4 separate regions of the Homo sapiens genome follow, and all the other regions are linked to region 2. The links are contacts of gene promoters, found by promoter capture Hi-C in human tissues and cell types (Jung and others, 2019). All regions are on one chromosome and are shown on one strand. The core of a region is centred on a gene start or on the middle of the fragment in contact, and the rest is flanking DNA. Distances in the headings are between cores, read along the strand shown.

Region 1 (3,171 bases), core at 104-2,603, 1.1 Mb before region 2:
GCCATTGCACTCCAGCCTGGGCAATAAGAGCGAAACTCCATCTCAAAATAAATAAATAAATAAAATTAAATAAATGAATAAAATAAAATTTAAAAATAAATAAATACATAAGATTTTTTTTTGAGATGGAGTCTCACTCTGTTGCCCAGGCTGGAGTGCAGTGGTACAATCTTGGCTCAGTGCAACCTCTGCCTCCTGGGTTCCAGCGATTCTCCTGCCTCAGCCTCCCGAGTAGCTGAGATTATAGGCGCCTGCCACTACGCCTGTCTAATTTTTGTATTTTAGTAGAGACAGGGTTTTACCATGTTGGTCAGGCTGGTCTCGAACTCCTGACCTCAGGTGATCTGCCCACCTCGGCCTCCCAAAGTGCTGGATTATAGGCGTGAGCCACCACGCCCAGCCTTATTATTTCTATCTTTCTTTCTTTTTTTGAGAGAGAGTCTCGCTCTGTCGGCCAGGCTGGAGTGCAGCGGCAGGATCTGGCTCACTGTAACCTCTGCCTCCCGGGCTCAAGCAATTCTCCTGCCTCAGCCTCCTGAGTAGCTGGGATTACAGGCGCACGCCACCACGCCCGCCTAATTTTTGTATTTTTAGTAGAGACGGGGTTTCACCGTGTTGGCCAGGCTGGTCTTGAACTTCTGACCTCGTGATTCGCCTGCCTCGGCCTCCCAAAGTGCTGGGATTACAGGCGTGAGCCACCGCGCGCGGCCAGCCTTATTATTTCTTTAAAGCATTTTTGAGACAGGGTCTCGCCCTGTCACCCAGGCTGGGGTGCAGTGGTGCGATCTCCGCCTCCCGGGCTCCAGCGAAACTCCCACCTCAGCCTCCTGAGTAGTTGGGACCACAGAGGGGTGCCACCACGCCCGGGTAATTTTTGCATTCTTAGTAGAGACGCGGTTTCGCCACATTGGCCAGGCTGGTCTCAAACTCCTGAGCTCAACCAATCTGCCCGCCTCAGCCTTTCAAAGTGCCAGGATTACGGGCGTGAGGCACCGCGCCTGGTTAAATCCGCGGTTTCCACAGGGAATTCCAGGCCCGCCTTCCTTCTCCCGGAAACCTTACCGCTCGAGGACTACATTTCCCAGGATGCCCTGCGACTAACCAAGCCGGAAGACGGTTGTCTTGGTTGGGCGGGTCCGGGAGAGGCTCGTCTGTGGAGAGGTGGCCCAGCCAATGGGTGAGGCCGACTGAATCGAAAGCTACGGTGATTGTGCCGAGGTGATTGGAATCTTTGGCGCCTTGGTTTCAGAGGTGGGCGCATGATGAGCGGGTACAGAGACCAATGAAAAGGCGGGAAGGCGGATCCCGCGCGTGGGGCGCGAAGAGTTGCTGACGAGCAGGCTGTTTGTCCAATGCAAGGCGAAAGTCGCTGAAGGGGGCGGGGCGAGGCGAGAGGAGGCGGGCGTGTGTTGTGGAGGAAAGTGTGCCATGGCGGAGCCTGTGGGGAAGCGGGGCCGCTGGTCCGGAGGTAGCGGTGCCGGCCGAGGGGGTCGGGGCGGCTGGGGCGGTCGGGGCCGGCGTCCTCGGGCCCAGCGGTCTCCATCCCGGGGCACGCTGGACGTAGTGTCTGTGGACTTGGTCACCGACAGCGATGAGGAAATTCTGGAGGTCGCCACCGCTCGCGGTGCCGCGGACGAGGTTGAGGTGGAGCCCCCGGAGCCCCCGGGGCCGGTCGCGTCCCGGGATAACAGCAACAGTGACAGCGAAGGGGAGGACAGGCGGCCCGCAGGACCCCCGCGGGAGCCGGTCAGGCGGCGGCGGCGGCTGGTGCTGGATCCGGGGGAGGCGCCGCTGGTTCCGGTGTACTCGGGGAAGGTGCGCCCGGTCCCGGGGAGGGGACCGGCGGAAGGGCCAAGGGCTTGGCCTCCAGGGAGGGGCCGGCGTTCGGGGAGGGTAGGGCTATAGGGGTGTTGAGGCTGGCGTTCTGGGGCTGGTCCTCGGGCGTTAGGGTGTTGGAGGCAGGGAGAGGCAGGGCTCCGGGACTTTCTGCAGACTGGGGTGGTGAAGGAGGGTGGGATGCGTTGGAAGTTTAGGATTCCTAGGAGCTAGAGTCTTGGGGGCACAGGGAGGCTGAAGAGCTGGGATTCCTGAGATTTTGGAGAGGGACTGGGAGGACCTGGGGCCGTTGGATTTTGAGGTTGGGGTCCATGGCAAATGAAGCCAGGGAGCTGCAGTATTGGGGGTTGGGGTCCATGCGGGTTCAGAGAGGACTGGGCGGCTCCAGAGGCTGGGGTCCCCCGATGGTCGTGTGAGCAATGGGCTGAGAGTCCCTAAGAGTCAGGGGTAGAGGGGCGGCTAGTAACCTAGTTAAAAAGGGCAAGGAAGCATACATTTCAGAGTGTCTTAGGCAGATGGAGGAAAGGGTGAAGGGTACTTCCATTCTGAATCCTGGGGAAGCTGGACTTCTAGGTTGCCAGGAGAGGGCCAAGGTGTCCACGATCTTAGGGAGGATTTGGGAGCTGGGTGTCAGGGAAGAATTACCCCCAATTTTTTCTTTCGGTAGGGGAAGGACTTGGGCCTGACCCCTCTCCCTTCTTTGTCTTTGCAGGTTAAAAGCAGCCTTCGCCTTATCCCAGATGATCTATCCCTCCTGAAACTCTACCCTCCAGGGGATGAGGAAGGTAAGGGAGGGCCTCCAGGGAGAGGCACGCAGCCGCTGGCTTCTCTTAAGAGAATTCCTGGGGTTTATATTCCTGCAGTCAGTTGTCTCCTGAGGCTCAAGGGAAGAGCGTGGGAGAGGGGACTCCTGCATCCCAGCCACAGGAGCTGGATTGTTAACAAGCATAGAATGTATTAATGTATACATTTCTGGTGCCACCTGAAGAGATGCTGATTCTGTAGTCCTGGGCGGGGCAGGAGGCGGTAAGGTGTTGAGAATCTGTGACATCTTGTTACATCTGCAGCAAGTTCTTTGGGAACACTGGAGCCAGCAGGGTGTTCTCTGAATCTTATCAGGGATGCCCTGTCTTTGTCCTCCCCCACTGATGCATTTTTTGCAAACAACTCAAGGGCGGGGAATAGGAATCTAGTCTAATAAGGAAATAATCCAGTGGGCAAATGGAGACCTTGGACCAAGACTCTTGTACCATGAGGGAGTACAGTGGGGTGATTAAAAGCAAACAGGAGCCATCTGGCCTGGGTTTGAATCTCAGTTCTCTCTTTTTTTTTTTT
Region 2 (3,222 bases), core at 238-2,737:
CCAGCGTGCCTAGGGCGGCTGGAGAGAGAGGAAAGGCAGCATGGGTCGGTATGGAGACAGGTGTGTGCGAGAGGCCAGCAGGTGGGCACTGGCTCTGTGTGTCTCTCTCTCTTGCCAGCCCGCGAGTGTGAGTGCAAGAGGCTGAGTGGGCCCATGCGTGTGTGCGTCTGGGTCCCTGGCTCGGCCGCAACTGGGGCTGTGTGGGTGGTGGAGTGTCTCAGCAGAAATACTGAATATTGAGCCTTGCTGAAGCTGTAATCTCCACGCTGACTGCAGCTGTGGTGGCCGTCCCTGCCACCCCCCCACTGCCCTCCTCCCCTACCTACATGCACAGCCAGCAGGGCCCATCCCCCTCTCCCCCCACCACGGCAAGCCTGGAGACCCCCACCAGCACATGGGGCCTCCAAGCCCCCAGACTCACTGGCATCATCCGAGTCATAGCTGTCCACCTCCGCACCATCCTCAGGCGTGGTGGCCCCAAGGAGGGCTGCAGGGGGGGCCAGAGCCAGGGGGACCAGATGGGCGGGGGCCTCCCCGCCGCCCCCGCCGCCCCCTTCAGGTCCTGGTCCCCGGGGGAAGTAGTCAGAGATCTGGCGGATGGGCCGGATGGGCCCGGGGCACACGTTGATGGCCATGTGCTCCTGGATGTTGATGGTCATGCGATCGCCCCTGCGGCCCCTCATGCAGCACCCCTGGCTAGGAGAGGGCGTGTGAGCCAGTGAGCCCATCATACCTAGCCATCCTGGCTGAGGGCCAGGCGACGGCCTCCTCGGTCTGTGGGGCCCTCACTGGCCTCCCTTCCTAGGTGTCGAGGGAGAGGGTGGTGTGTGCCAGCCGGTGGCAGGTGGGAGGCCTGGGCCCTGCAGACCCCAAGCTGACTCCACAGGGGCTGGGCTGCCAACCCACTCCTTGCAGAAGTCGAGGTTGCACCACCCCGTCCTCACCCACCCACTTCTAGGTTGTCCCTGTATCATCTTGCCAGCTCCTTCCTCTCCTCCGGGGCTCCCCTCTGCTCCTGAGCCTGCCTGTCCCCCAAGGGGCCCTGCAGGGCCCCGCCTCTGTTTCTCGGAGGCTCTGTCCTCCTCTGCACCAGGCGCTGGTCTAGTCAGGGTGTCACCCACCCCTCTAGGCTCCAACTGCCCACTGTCCCCTCATTCAGCCCCAGGACCTGTCTGCCTGCCTGGTTCCCCCGCTCGCTCACCACAGCCCACGGTGGAGACCCCAGCCTCAGATGCCACCTCTGGCTCCTCAGGGGAGCCAGAAATTGCAGCCGCAGGAGAGCCGAACACCCCCGTAGCGCACACAGGCTGGCACGCTTCCCCGCACCCTCACGCCCCCGGCCTGCCCAGCCCCCTGCACCTGCCTCTGCCTCCAACAGGTGCCCAGGCACTGGGGGGACGGCGGGCGCAGGCTGGGCGGCGGCGGCCGGCGAGGAGAGCGCGGAGTCGAGCTGTGCGAGCCGAGAGGGAGGGAGCGCCGAGAAAGTGCGGGGAGGAGGGGGTGAGCGAGGTGGAGGCGAGGATGCAGCCGGCGCGGCGGCGGGGGACGGGGAGGGGCGCTGGGGCTGGGGAGGGGGCGGGATCTCGGACTCCCACCCGGGGCCCGCTCGGGAGCGCACGCGAGCGCGCACACACACGTGTGCTCGCGCGCGCACACTCACGCAGGGGCACGCGGACCGGCACACACTCGTGTGCACACATCCAACCGGGCACCCCCGCGCGCACACGCCCGTGCCCACGTGTGCACGCTCACACCCTTGCACACACCCAGGCGCGCGCTGGCACACTTACCCGGAGAACTTCGCACACACACGCACTCGCAAACACGCGGGCTCCCTGCGCCACCAGGAAGCAGCCGCCAGAATCGCCGGGTGTTCCCCAACTACTCCTGGGAGACCTGGCCCCCCGCCCCCGCCCGCGCGCGCGGCCACGGCGCCTCCCTCCCTCCCGGGTCCCCAAGGCCGGACCACCGGCCTCGTTGTCATGGCGACGCCGGCTCATCTCCCCCCACCCCCGCGCGTCTTCACGCCCCTCCCCCGCAGGGAGCTGGGGCCTCCCTCCTCCCTTCCCCACGTCCGTAGGGACCCACAGGTTGACAGGAGCAGGGGGTCGCCTGCTGTCACCGGCCGGGGATCTCGGGGTCTCCCGAGCCAGGCTGGGGAGCCTCACGATCTGAGGGAGGAGGCAGAGGTCTGATGCTGCGGCTTCCCCCACGCCCCCTCCCTTTGGCCGTTCAGGCCTCTCTCCTTGTGGCCCAACCCAACTCCCAGGGGCCCATGTCCCCTTACCAGGGATGGTATCTCCTTTGGGAACCACCCTCCCCCCTGCCATCCCCAGTTCTGCCCCGCAGGTGGGAAGGGGCGTCGGGGCTTGGCTCTGAAGGTCTCAGAGCCCTGCGGTAGTTCCCCATGGGCTGCCATTTCTCACCCAAACCTTGCCACCCCCAAGCCGCCCCCCTGCCCGGCCCTGCGCCTGCCACGGAGTGTCAGTCCACCCCTGGCCTTCGGTCTTCACTCACCTGTGCCCCAAACTTACCATCCCGAAGACACGAAGGGGCTTATCACCCTCGCTGCCCACCACTGACTCACCCAACCGTTTCCTGCAGTTCCTGGGACACACCTAGACGGCTCAGGCCTAGGGATCTTGGCTCACATGCGCTCCTCTACCTGGGAACCGCGCTTCCTTAGGAAGTCACCGTGGGTCCCCTCTTCCTAGGAGCCTTCCTGGGGCATCCCGCACTGCCCCTCAGCTCCAGCGCCGTCAGGACTCGGCTCAGCACCGCTTCGCCAGTGCCTCCCCCACCAGCAGGGAGTTCCACTGGAGCGGCTGATTCATCTGGGAGTCCCTAATGTCCCAAACTGGGCCTGGCACGAAGTCGGCATCTCTAAGTGCTGTTATTTAAAACAGCAATCTGGTTGCACGACAACTGAACATACCTAACACCACCTAATCTTACCCTTAAAAATGGTGAAGATGGTACATTTCGATATGCGTATTTCACGGCAATTTTTTTTTTTTTAAATAAGAGAAATGGGGCCGAGAGTGGTGGCGGGTGCCTGTAATCCTAGCTACTCCAGGGACTGCGGCGAGAGGATCGCTTGAGTGAAGCCAGCCTGGGCAACACAGTGAGACACAGTCTCTTAAAAAAAAAAAAAAAAAAAAGTAAGAGAAATGTAAAGTCAACAACACTGAGGGGGCGGGGCGCAGTGGCTCACGCCTGTAA
Region 3 (2,823 bases), core at 13-2,512, 1.0 Mb before region 2:
GCTTCCATCTGATAGTGGAATCACTGGTCACTAATTCTTGAATACTGTTAGATTGCTAACCAAAGTGCCTGTACATTTTTACATGTCCCCTAGCAAGTGCTGGAAGGTTCCAGTTTCCTCATACCTTCCCCTGACTTAATCTGGGAAGGGTATGGGAAAGACTGCATTTCTTTATCTTTTATGATGAGATTGTTCATCCTTTCACATGTCTAAAAGAATATCTAGGGTGATCTTTCTTTTTCTTTTTCTTTTTCTTTTCTTCTTTTTTTTTTTTTATAGGGTCTTGTTCTATCACCCAGGCTGGAGTGCAGTGGTGTGATCTCGGCTCACTGCAACCTCTGCCTCCGGGGCTCAAGTGATCCTCCCACCTCAGCCTCCTGATTAGCTGGGATCACAGGTGCATGACAGCATGCCCACCTAATTTTTTTGTATCTTTTGTAGAGGTAGGATCTCACTATGTTGCCCAGGCTGATCTTGAACTGCTGAGCTCAAGCAGTCTGCCTGCCTCTGCCTCCCAAAGTGCTGGGATTATAGGTGTGAGCCATCGTTCCCAGCCTTGTTTTGTTTTCTTGAGATAGGGTCTTCTCTGTCACCCAGGCTGGAGTGTAGTGGTGCTATCATAGCTCACTGCAGCCTCGATCTTGTGGACTCAAGCAATCCTCCCGAGTCTCCTGAGTAGCTGGGACTACAGGTGAATGACAACACACCTGCTAATTGTTAAACTTTTGTGTAGAGATGGACTCTCCCTAGGTTTCCCAAGCTGGTCTGGAACTCCTGGCCTCAAGCAATTTTCCTGCCTTGGCCTCCCAAAGTGCTGGGATTACAGGTGTGAACCACTGCAGCTGGCTCTGGATAATCTTCCTCAAACTCTCCTGATTAGAGACCCTTGAAACTTTAATGCTCCTTTACTCAGTGCCACATACCAACCTTGGCTCTTTTCATAACCTTATTCATCCTCAGAGCAATCCTGTGAGGTAGGTGTTCTTATTCCCATTTTACAGAAGAAAAACAGAAGCTTAGGGCTGGGCACAGTGGCTCACGCCTGTAATCCCAGCACTTTGGGAGGCCTAAACGGATGGATCATTTGAGGTCAGAAGTTCAAGACCACCCTGGCCAACATGGTGAGACCCTATCTCTACAAAAAGAAAGAAAAAAAAACCAGGTATGGTGATGCACGCCTGTAGTCCCAGCTACTTGGGAGGCTGAGGCAGGATAATTGCTTGGACCTGGGAGGCAGAGGTTGCAGTGAGCTGAGATCGCACCACTGCACTCCAGCCTGGGCGAGAGAGTGAGACGCTGTCTCAAAAAAAAAAGACAGAAGCTTAGAAAGATGAATGAACGTGCTCTAGACCACAGGGCCTCCCATTGCACAGCCCGGTGTAGATGCAGGTGGGTCTGATGTATGGCTCAGAATTCTCAAGGAGACCAGAGACTCTCGTCAGTGTGCACACAGGTTGTCTGGGGACCTTGTTAGTGTGCAGATGCTGGATCAGCAGCTCAGGTGGGGCGTGAGATGCTGCATTTCCAGCAAGGTCCCAAGTGATGGCAATGTAGCTGATCATACTTGAAGTTGCAACATACCATTTTGCCTTTTTTTCTCTATGCCTTTACTGTCTCCCACCTCCCTACCCCTGTCACCCCCTCCAACTCAGGGTCAGTTCTTCCATAAGGCTCCTCGTAGGACTGGTCACATTGTCTTTTGTGTGTCCCACCTCTGCTTGGAGTCTGGCTTGGTACACCCATCCACGCATCCAGGTTTTGCTTCCCTATGGGACTGTAAGTTCCTTGAAAATAAACTCTTCTTAAAAATCTCTTGGCTGGGCCGCAGTGGCTCATGCCTGTAATCCCAGCACTTCAGGGGGCTGAGGTGGGAGGATCACTTGAGGCCAGGAGTTCCAGACCAGCCTGGGCAATCTAGTGAGACCCCATCTCTACAAACATAAAAAAAATTAGCCAAGTGTGTGGTGCATGCCTGTAGTCCCAGCTACTCAGGAAGGAGGCTGAGGTGGGAGGATTGCTTGAGCCCAGGAGTTCGAGACTGTAGTGAGCTGTGATTGTGCCACTGCACACCAGCCTGGGCAACAGAGCAAGACCCCATCTCAAAAAAGTCTCTTGCTTGGTGTCTGACACCTTGACACAGTAGTATCCTAACAAATGTTTGTTGAATGATTAAACTCCTGTCTCAAAGAATCCCAGCATCATCCATCTCTGCGTGAGCCAGAAAAGCTTCACTCTTGATCCCTTTTCATCCCCCACACCCACTGCATCACCCGTTCAACTTAATAGCCCCAGCTCCCTCCCAAATCAGCTCCCTCTGCCCGTCTCCATGCTGTCCTAGGCCAAGCCACCACTGCCTGCAGCCTAGGCTAGTGCCACAGCCGCTTCACGGGTGGCTGTTTCCCCTCTGGCCTCTCAAATCCATCTTCCATGCTGCAGCCAGAATGATATTTTCTTTGGTTTTTTCTTTGTTTTTTTTTTTTGAGACGGAGTCTCAGTCTGTTGTCCAGGCTGGAGTGCAGTGGCGCGATCTTGGCTCACTGCAACCTCTGCAGTGAGGTTCAAGCGATTCTCCTGCCTCAGCCTCCCAAGTAGTTAGGATTACAGGTGTTCACCACCACGCCTGGCTAATCTTTGTATTTTTAATAGAGACAGGGTTTCCCCATGTTGGCCAGGCTGGTCTCAAACTCCTGAACTCAAGTGATCCTCCTGCCAAAGTGCTGGGATTACAGGCGTGAACCACCACTCCCGGCCTATTGTAGTTTAATTAATATGCCTAAACATTGACTCATTTTAAGCATACAGTTCAGTGAATTTTTTCAAAAA
Region 4 (3,027 bases), core at 259-2,758, 1.1 Mb before region 2:
GGACACCTTTTTTTTTTTGTTTGTGTGTTTAATTTTTTTATTTTTAAAAAATTATTGTTTGTGTTTTTGTTTTTGAGATAGGGTCTTGTTATGTCTCCCAGGCTGGAGTGCAGTGGTGCAGTCACAGCTTCCTGCAGCCTTGACCTCCCTGGCTCAAGCCATCTTCCTGCGTCAGCGGCTTAAGGTGCTGGGACCACAGGCGTGTGCCACCACCACACCTAGCTAATTTTTTATTTTTTGTAAGAGATGGGGTCTCACCATGTTGCCCAAGTTGGTCTTGAACTCCTGGGCTCAAGTCATTCTCACACCTCAGCCTCCCAAAAGGCTGGGATTACAGGCGTGAGCCACTGTGTGCAGCCAGAATTCCGTGTGTGTGTGTGTGTGTGTGTGTGTGTGTGTGTGTGTTTTGAGACAGAGGCTTGCTCTGTCGCCCAGGCTGCAGTGCAGTGAAACAATCTCGGCTCACTGCAACCTCTGCCTCCCGGGTTCAAGCAATTCTTCTGCCTCAGCCTCCCAGGTAGCTAGGATTACAGGTGTGCACCACTACGTCCAGCTAATTTTTGTATTTTTAGTAGAGATGGTGTTTCACCATGTTGCCCAGGCTGCTCTCGAACTCCTAAGCTCAAGTGATCCTCCTGCCTCAACCTCCCAAAGTGCGGGTATTACAGGTGTGAGCCACTGCGCCTGGCCCAGGACTCCTTTTGAATGTCAAAATATTTGAGGCAGCTGGGCACGGTGGCTCACGCCTGTAATCCCAGAGCTGAGGTGGGCAGATCACTTGAGTCCAGGAACTCAGGGCCAACCTGGGCTATTATATAGCGAGACCCCTTCTCTACAAAAACATGTATATATATATTTAAGGCATTCTGCTCTCCGTTTCTGCAACAGTCTTTCAGCTGTTGATTCAGAAAAAGATGGAGACACATTGGGACTTTAGAACCTCCTTGCAATAACTCTGCAGTCCCTCAGCAGCGCAGGAAGCATCAGTTAGGAGCCATTGGTAAAAGCATCAGGGGTCACTACCCACAGAGCTGTTTGGCATCTTGGCCAGCGACTGCACACAGGGTAGACTGCTGGTGAGGAGATGGGCCCAGGACAGTCCTTTAGAAGAGGAATTTCTTGGGTTCTCAGCTTTGCCCTTTTTTTTTCCAGGGGCATATGGGGGCCTCTCAGACCGCCCCTCGGCATCCATCTCCCCCAGCTCTGCCTCCATTGCCGCCTCCCATTTTGACTCGATGGAACTGCTTCCCCCAGAGTTGCCCCCCCGCATCCCCATTGAAGAGGGACCCCCAACAGGGACAGTTCATCCCCTCTCAGCCCCCTACCCTCCCTTGGACACTCCGGAAACAGCCACAGGTACCGGAGGTGTGAGTGTGCATGTCTCCAGGCCTGGGTGCCTACCTTCCTGACCACCTCTCCTGGGATCCCGAGGGAGCTGGCCCAGGGGAGTTGGGGACGCATGTGGGGAGCAGGCGCCTTGAGGGGAAGGCAAGGCTTTTTTCTCCCAGGATGGGGGAGGCTGCCCTGACACCCCGGTTTCCCTCCCTCTCTCCTTCCTGAAGGGTCCTTCCTGTTCCAGGGGGAGCCAGAGGGCGGTGAGGGGGACCAGCCCCTCTCAGGGTATCCTTGGTTCCACGGGATGCTCTCTCGGCTCAAGGCTGCACAGTTGGTGCTGACTGGCGGCACTGGCTCCCACGGTGTCTTCCTGGTGCGCCAGAGTGAGACAAGGCGGGGTGAATACGTCCTCACCTTCAACTTCCAGGGCAAGGCCAAGGTGAGCCACCCTGTGGGAAAGGCTCTGTTCTGTGCATAGTTGGCAGTGGGGTGGGGGAGCACTGCCGGGGGAGGGGGTTTGTACCTGGCAGGGCCTTTGCCTCCTACCTCACCTCCCCCATCCCGCCCTCAGCACCTGCGTTTGTCGCTGAACGAGGAGGGTCAGTGCCGGGTCCAGCACCTGTGGTTCCAGTCCATTTTCGATATGCTCGAGCACTTCCGGGTGCACCCCATCCCTTTGGAGTCGGGAGGCTCCAGTGATGTTGTCCTTGTCAGCTATGTCCCATCCTCCCAGCGACAGCAGGGTGAGCAGAGCAGGTCTGCAGGGGAGGAGGTGCCCGTGCACCCAAGAAGTGAGGTGTGTGTGCCAGAAAGATGGGGCGGGGAGGGGGGACTATCACAAGGAGAAGCTTTGCTTGGGAGAGCAGGGTAGAGGAGGCTGTTGTGCCTCGGGGTTTGGAAGGGAAAGAAATGCGCTGATAGGACACAGGAAGGCAGAAGGCTCCTGGCCGGAGCCGGGGCGGCAGCTGAGAGGTGGGCGGGCGCATCCCCATTCCATCGGATCCTCTGTTCCATTGTCTGTCTGTCTCCTGGACCCATCCTGGCCTCGTCTTTGCCCTCCGTCGCAGCCTGGCCTTGGGCCTGCCCTTCCCGGGGACACTCGGTCTGATCCCCTTCCCTCCTCCCTCAATGTCTCATGTCCCTGTCTGATCTCTCCCTTTCCCCTGCCCCACCGTCCCATCTGTCCCCACGTTGCCCCTCCCCCCAGGCCGGGAGCAGGCTGGGAGCCATGCGGGGGTGTGCGAGGGAGATGGATGCCACCCCGATGCCTCCTGCACCCTCATGCCCTTCGGAGCGAGTGACTGTGTGTAAGTGTGGTCCTCCTCTCACCACCGCCCATGATCCATCTTCCATGGATGGGGGGTTGCTCAGGAGATGGGATGTGGGGAGACAGCCACGCTCCTGGGGGGCTGAGTGAAGGGGAGGCCACGGCAGGAGCTCACCTGCCTCCACAATCAGTCTGTTTTCTTACCATTCCTATCCAGAACCGACCACCTCCCATGACCCACCCCAGCCCCCTGAACCCCCTTCATGGACAGATCCCCCACAGCCTGGGGCAGAAGAGGCGTCGAGGGCGCCAGAAGTGGCGGCAGCAGCAGCCGCAGCAGCCAAAGAGAGGCAAGAGAAAGAGAAAGCGGGCGGTGGAGGGGTCCCGGAAGAGCTGGTCCCCGTGGTTGAGCTGGTCCCCGTGGT

Evidence for each region. The method cuts DNA at HindIII sites, captures the fragments that hold promoters and counts their contacts. A contact is called where the count stands out against the background at its distance.
Region 1: a contact is called between the fragment with the promoter of NFATC2IP here and the fragment with the promoter of DOC2A in region 2, in 1 of the 25 tissues and cell types used here (lymphoblastoid cells).
Region 3: a fragment that was not itself captured here is called in contact with the fragment with the promoter of DOC2A in region 2 in 1 of the 25 tissues and cell types used here (lymphoblastoid cells).
Region 4: a fragment that was not itself captured here is called in contact with the fragment with the promoter of DOC2A in region 2 in 1 of the 25 tissues and cell types used here (lymphoblastoid cells).

What each region holds. Positions count from the first base shown.
Region 1 is chr16:28,949,584-28,952,754 of GRCh38, forward strand. It overlaps NFATC2IP (nuclear factor of activated T cells 2 interacting protein), which reads left to right and starts at 1,354. Exons shown (of 8, transcript NM_032815.4): 1 at 1,354-1,815; 2 at 2,549-2,621. The coding sequence starts at 1,429. RefSeq lists enhancers at 676-1,210, 1,230-1,730 and silencers at 1,450-1,549, 1,690-1,809. The HindIII fragment of the contact is 8,980 bases long and covers 1-3,171 here.
Region 2 is chr16:30,009,540-30,012,761 of GRCh38, forward strand. It overlaps DOC2A (double C2 domain alpha), which reads right to left and starts at 1,488. Exons shown (of 11, transcript NM_003586.3): 1 at 1,364-1,488; 2 at 422-696; 3 at 1-18. The coding sequence starts at 683. RefSeq lists a silencer at 1,395-1,454. The HindIII fragment of the contact is 30,604 bases long and covers 1,328-3,222 here.
Region 3 is chr16:28,967,870-28,970,692 of GRCh38, forward strand. No RefSeq gene overlaps it. Among named protein-coding and RNA genes, the nearest start is that of NFATC2IP-AS1, 2.8 kb to the left of the region's middle. The HindIII fragment of the contact is 5,584 bases long and covers 1-2,823 here.
Region 4 is chr16:28,870,628-28,873,654 of GRCh38, forward strand. It overlaps SH2B1 (SH2B adaptor protein 1), which reads left to right. Exons shown (of 8, transcript NM_001387430.1): 5 at 1,153-1,356; 6 at 1,563-1,774; 7 at 1,907-2,078; 8 at 2,820-3,027. Among named protein-coding and RNA genes, the nearest start is that of ATP2A1, 6.3 kb to the right of the region's middle. The HindIII fragment of the contact is 4,269 bases long and covers 1-3,027 here.